Regions from separate parts of the Homo sapiens genome. Here region 2 is linked to region 1. Evidence: promoter capture Hi-C in human tissues and cell types (Jung and others, 2019). All regions are on one chromosome and are shown on one strand. The core of a region is centred on a gene start or on the middle of the fragment in contact, and the rest is flanking DNA. Distances in the headings are between cores, read along the strand shown.

Region 1 (3,439 bases), core at 675-3,174:
TGCCAGGTGGGGCAGAACAGGTGCCATGATAGCAAACAAGGGAAAGAACAAAGAATTAGAAGAACGGACTTCTTCTAAATGCATGTTAGTATGAACACAGAGTCATTTATTCATATTAGATGTGCAGAGGGCCTCCTGTGTGCCACACTGAGCTCATTAGGAGGGGCTGGCCCTTCACACATGAGTGTGTGAATTTCTCTATTCCAGTCCCAGTTGAGAAGTCAATTTATTTGAGAACACATGGCCATATGACTGAAGAGAAAGTGCTCATCCACACAAGGCATGTTCTGCGGATGTCACACCCTCCTGGATTGCCCTCGGTCTGTAGGAAATGGTGGAATGCATTCTAAATGCCTAAGAGTGATCATCAGAAGAGCATGATGTGGCAGAAGGGGTGCAGGTTTTGCTTTCTAAGAACTGTGTGAATTTGAGAAAGTCACTTCTTTTTTTTTTGAGATGGAGTCTTGCTCTGTTGCCCAGGCTGGAGCTCAGTGGCACAATCTTAGCTCACTTCAATCTTCATCTTTTGGGTTCAAGTGATTCTCTTGCCTCAGTCTCCCGAGTAGATGGGATTACAGTTGTGCGCCGCCATGCTTGGCTAATTTTGGTATTTGTAATAGAGACAGGGTTTCGCCATGTTGGCCAGGCTGATCTTGAACTCTCGACCTCAGGTGATCCACCACCTCGGCTTCTCAAAGTGCTGGGATTACAGGCGTGAGCCGCTGTGCCTGGCTGGAAAGTCACTTCTTATCTTTGAGCCTAAAGACAAATTTTCTTGTGTGTAAAACCGGATCATAATATCTGCATCCTGGGTGGCTGTGGGAATAAAATGAGATCAGGCAAGGATCTGCTTCCGGGCAGGTGCTCAGGAAATGACAGCTGTTATGATTTTTGAGCATAGCAGAGGACAGAGGGTCACGTTCAACAGTTGCCAGTGTGGGTGATGCAGTCTGTCCTCAGTGGGGTCCTGCCCTCAGGAGTCACTAGCTGAGATCCTTCGCCCAATGAGAAGGGCTCGGAGTGCCCCCTGTACATCGCGATTCCAGAGGCTGTAGATGATGGGGTTCAGCATGGGGGTGACTACAGTGTACATGACAGTGGCCACACGGCCCCACTCTGCCTCGCGTCGGGATGTGGCCTGGAAGTAGACTGCAATGACTGTCCCATAGAAGAGGCTCACCACAGCCAGGTGGGAGCCACAGGTGGACACAGCCCGGAGCCTCCCAGAGGCTGAGGGCAGCTGGAGCACGGCAGCTGCGATGGCCCCATAGGAGGCGAGGATGAGCAGGAAGGGAGTGACCACCACTGCGGCGCCCTCGGTGAAGATGAGCAGCTGGATGTGGTGGGTGTCAGAGCACGAGAGCCTTAAGAGAGGCTGGTGGTCACAGAAGAAGTGGGGCACTTGGTGGGAAGCACAGAAGGACAAGCGAGCCATGAGCAGGATATACAGGAGGGAGTGGACGTGGGACACCAGCCATGCCATTCCCACCAGGGCTGCGCACATGGCCCGGGACATCCTCGTGGCATAGGGGAGGGGGTGCCGGATGGCCACGTAGCAGTCATAGGCCATGGCCGCCAGAAGACAGCTATCAGTTACCCCCAGGGCAAAGAAGAAGTACATTTGGGTCAGGCAGCCAGCCAGCGAGATGGAGTGGTCATGGGCCAACAAGTTGGCCAACATCTTGGGCACAGTGACGGAGGCGAAGCAGAGGTCAGCAAAGGACAGGTGGGCCAGCAGGAAGTACATGGGTGCATGAAGGGCTGGACTGGCCTGGATGGCAGCCACAATGAGTCCATTACCCAGGAGGCTGGCCACATACAAGAGCAAGAACAGCACAAAGAGAGGCCGCTGCTGTCCAGGACTTGTTGTCAGTCCCAATAAAACGAATGAGATTCCCTCTGAAGACTCATTGGCAGCCTCCATGGCAGGCTGGTTATTCGCCTGGAACCTGAAGGGCTCCTTTCTATTGATGGGTCACCTCCCCGATGTCTAACGGAAAAGGTGAGGGGATAAATTGTTCAAGGCTTCCTGGCCATGGGAAAATATCAAGAGTTTAGAGTCAGGTAGCCCTGGCCCTAGGCACAGGTATGACTATGGGCAAGTCATTTCACCTCCCTGAACCTTCTTCCTTTCTGGGCCTTAGATTTTCTTTTCTTTTTTTTTTTTTTTTTTTGAGATGGAGTCTTGCTCTGTCGCCCAGGCTGGAGTGCAGTGGCACGATCTCAGCTCACTGCAAGCTCCACCTCCTGGGTTCACGCCATTCTCCTGCCTCAGCCTCCCGAGTAGCTGGGACTACAGGCGCCCGCCATCACGCCCGGCTAATTTTTTTTGTATTTTTTAGTAGAGACGGGGTTTCACCGTGTTAGCCAGGATGTTCTCGATCTCCTGACCTTGTGGGGCCTTAGACTTTCAACCTGCGAAATAAGAGAATTGAAGTAACTCATCTGCAAGGTCACGTCCAACTTTGATAGTTTGTGATTTAAGCAAAAATAGAACAAAAGATATTGCACAAGATGTAGATCAGGGAAGGAGGAAAATATGAAAGAAAAGATGAAACAGAGTGAGGTTCGACACAGAAAGATCTGGCCAATGGACATTTATTTTGGAAAAGAAAAAATGAAACCAAACCAAGATGGAGGAGAGAAACATAAGAAAGAAACTCTAGAAAAAAAATCTGAAGAGCACATATGTTTACATTGAAATGAATATGAACTCACAACACCTAGACACAAATAGTGGAATTTTAGAACACTGGAAATGAAGAGGAGACTCCAGTACTTCCTAAGGGCATGGGGTGCAATGAACTGATGATATCCATGTAATTAGATTGCCATCAAATGTTTCAATTCAACAGTAGATTATAGAACAGTTTAACAATATTCAAATTCTGAAAAAAAGCATTTCGAACTTGGAATTCTTCACTCAGCAAAAATACTACTCAAGTGTGAGTAAAGAATACAGATATTTTCAGACTTAAAACACAAAACAAGGCCGGGTGCAGTGGCTCGTGCCTGTAATCCCAGCACTTTGGGAGGCCAAGGTAGGAGGATCACCTGAGGTCAGGAGTTTGAGACCAGCCTGGCCAATGTGGTGAAACCCCATCTCTACTAAAAAAAAAAATACAAAAATTAGCCAGGTGTGGTGTCACGTGCCTGTAATCCCAGCTACTTGGGAGGCTGGGGCAGGAGAATATCTTGAACCCAGGAGGCAGAGGTTGCAGTGAGCCAAGATCGTGCCACTGCACTCCAGCCTGGGTGGCACAGTGAGACTCCATCTCACACACACACAAAAAAAGAACAAGAGAATCTGAATGACTCCTCATATCCCTGAAAACTTTCCCCATGAAATCAAACACTTACTGAGCACCAAGCAGATGCACATCACAGGGTGAGAAACTCCTGTGGACAGATGGACACATCTGCCCAGGCATAGCGACTT
Region 2 (3,439 bases), core at 477-2,976, 47 kb after region 1:
CGTTTTCCATTTCTCCATTGCACATTCACCAAAGTTATGAATCACCACCATGTCACTAAAGCCAATGGACAACCTTCAGCCTTATTTTGTTAAACTGTCATCATATTTTGATACCAGTTAATGGCTCCTGCCTCTTCAAATTTACTCTTCTCTTGAATTCTATGACTACTCCTTTTAATTCCTCTTTGATAATGTTTTCTCTATTAGATTCTTCAATGCCAGAAATACTCTGCCCTCTTCCCTACTTTTTTCTTGGGTCTCATGCTACACACTCTTCCTAATTGTCATCACTTACTCTGATAAACAGGTAAAATATGTTCAGTGAACTGAATTCCCCTTATTTCAGTATTGAGCTAAATCTCAAATATTTGTATATATGTAATAAGCTTACATTGGAAAAACCCAATACATTTTTTTAAACTTTTTGTGTTTTGTCAACAAATGAGAGACCTATGGTATTATTTCTCTATTGTATTCAGCCAGCCTTCTGGATACCAATATGGTGAAACAAGGAGCTGGCAAGGAGATTCCTTGTCTACTCTCAAGGACTATGTAGCAGCATTTGAGACAATGTGACAAGATGTCCAGAGGCCTGTTGAAATCCCTCCCTGTGATTATATCTACCTTCATAATCTATTTATTTCCTCTTACTCATGCTTATTAGTGACTTTCTAGGTTGACTTCTGGACTCTCTTGATTGGACAGCAAAAATCTTACTACACTTTGTAGATACTCCTTGCTCATGGCAGTTCTTTCCTTCTGAAGAGTGACAGGATGTCTTGTGGGAAGTAGCTTCATATTTTGACAGAGAAAACACTCCAGCTCTGACTGAGAAGTTTAGGACTTACCTGAGGGTCAGAGTAGGAACTCTTTCATCCCAAAGTGCACTCTCGTGGTTAATTGTTATCTAGAATTTCCTTTTCTTTACACTTTTGGTAATATCTCTAGGATTATTCATAAAACATCTTTTATGATTTTTTTTTGCCATGCATTTGTTGAGAAAAAGAAGTCTGGGGCTGATGGCAATGTGAGATCAGAAATATCCATCTGACAAAGGTCAAATATCCAGAATCTACAAGGAACTTAAAAAATTTACAAGAAAAAAATAAACAACCCCATTAAAAAGTGGGCAAAAGACATAAACAGACACTTCTCAAAAGAAGACATTTACGCGGCCAACAAACATGAAAGAAAGCTCAACATCACGGTCATTAGAGAAATGCAAATCATAACCACCATGAGATACCATCTCATGACAGTCAGAATGGTGATTATTAAAAAGTCAAGAAACAACAGATGCTGGTGAGACTGGAGAAATAGGAACACTTTTATACTGTTGGTGGGAATGTAAATTAGTTCAACTATTGTGGAAGATAGTGTGCCAATTCCTCAAAGACCTAGAACCACAAATACCATTCAACCCAGCAGTGCCATTACTGGATATATACCCAAAGGAATATAAATTATTCTATTATAAAGATACATGCACACGTATGTTCATTGCAGCACTATTCACAATAGCAAAGACATGGTATCAACCCAAATGTCCATCAATGATACACTGCATAAAGAAAATGTGGTACATATACACCATGGAATACTATGAAGTTATAAAAAGGAACAAGATCATGTCCTTTGCAGGGACATGGATGGAGCTGGAATCTATTATCCTCAGCAAACTAACACAAGAACAGAAAACTGAACTCTGCATATTCTCACTTACAAGTGGGAGCTGAACAACGAGAAAACATGGACAGAGGGAGGGGAACAACCCACACTGCGGTCTGGGTGGGAGTGGGGAGGGAGAGCATCAGGATAAATAGCTAATGCATATGGGGCTTAATACCTAGGTGATGGGTTGATAGGTGCAGGAAACCACCATAGCACACGTTTACCCATGTAACAAACCTACACGTCCTGCACATGTATCCTGGAATTTAAAATAAGTTAAAAAAAAAAAAGTAAGTTAGTGTTCTCAGGACTAAAGAACTTAATTGGATTTATAAGTTAATGGTGGCATAATTAATGAATTTGTTTATTTAATGTATATGTAATATACATATAATTTATGAATAGATTTATTTAATATAGATATTCCTAACATTCTGAAGTAGCTAATTGAACTTGGTTGAGCATGAGAAAACTATGGCACATAAATTGAGTAAGTGGAAATGGTACATATCTTCTAGGCCAGCATCCCACAAACCAAATGATCAGTGAGAGATAGTGGTGAAAACCAGGTGTGCCTGTACAAACACGAAGGTTATTGCTTTGGGTTTCTTTCCTGGCTTTCTGGTTACTCCCTTATAATTAGGAGCACGTAGTGAAAGCACTAGCAGGGACCTTGATGTCGGAACCTAGGTGTCCCTGTATTTCCTTGGACACCATTCACCTCTTACTAAATCTTTAAGGCCAAAAAACTTGTATTCAGCGTCAGGTCCTGCCACACAAGCTTGTGACCTAGAAAAGCTGATGGTTGTGGGAACTTGATGAAATAATTGAAGCAGAAAAATCCCAGACAGTGTGTAAGTGTTACATTACTATTGTTATTGACAATAACACAATCCAGGAGAACTGATGAAGCAACTAATTCACACTGATGTGTTTGTATGTTAATATAGTTGGGTAGTAGTAATGAATGCGGTTTATCAAATACTTCTGGCTTTCTAAAATCTTAGAGGGACATAGTTGGATTGTGCCTCCTGGCTGCCTTGCGTTTGGGTGGGGTCATGAGAGGTGTTTTAGACAATAAGTTATGGTCATAAGAGGTGAGGGTCACTTCTGGGCCAGAGTTTTTAACTGCCAGTGTGAAACCTCCAAGAGCCTTTCTCAGCTTCTGGCAGAGTGATGATTAATGTTTTCAGTGGTGACTGCTCCACGATCTTGGGTCTCTGCATGTTGAAAATAAGTAGCACACTTACACTTTTCTATGGTGGACCTACAATGTGAATGAGAAATAAACCTTTGGTTTTAAGGTCCTAAGACTTTGAGGTTGATTGTTTCCATAGCACAACCGAGCTTTTTCCTAACTGATACATTAGCTTTTTCTAGGATACAAAATGCAGCTTGGTGAGGATGCTGGATGTATGAAGGGAAGAATTAAGAGGGAAGGGAAAAGAAATCGGGTACTGAGCCTTCACACTGTCATGAAACTTAAGTGTTGGTGGGGGGGAGAATAAATGCATTTTGTAGATTCTTCTATCTTTCCAGCCGTATTCTCCTTTCTCTCAAACTGATGAAGCCTCAGCTTTTCATTGTCCCTCAAACACATTGCAGTGCTTATTGTCTCCACATGCTTGGGTGGTTTTCACTATTTGAAATGCTTTGCCCATTTCTTCATCTTTTGAAACTTCCTCTTTCAAAATTCAGTCCATCCTTCAAGATGCCATTCCTTCAAGAAGTCTTACCCAATGACCTATCAAACCCATGTAGTTTCTTC

What was found. The method cuts DNA at HindIII sites, captures the fragments that hold promoters and counts their contacts. A contact is called where the count stands out against the background at its distance.
Region 2: a fragment that was not itself captured here is called in contact with the fragment with the promoter of OR1K1 in region 1 in 4 of the 25 tissues and cell types used here (bladder, mesenchymal stem cells, mesendoderm cells and 1 more).

The regions. Positions count from the first base shown.
Region 1 is chr9:122,798,608-122,802,046 of GRCh38, reverse strand. It overlaps OR1K1 (olfactory receptor family 1 subfamily K member 1), which reads right to left and starts at 1,924. Exons shown (of 1, transcript NM_080859.1): 1 at 974-1,924. The coding sequence starts at 1,924. The coding sequence ends at 974. The HindIII fragment of the contact is 19,122 bases long and covers 1-3,439 here.
Region 2 is chr9:122,751,507-122,754,945 of GRCh38, reverse strand. No RefSeq gene overlaps it. Among named protein-coding and RNA genes, the nearest start is that of OR1L6, 11 kb to the right of the region's middle. The HindIII fragment of the contact is 4,183 bases long and covers 1-3,439 here.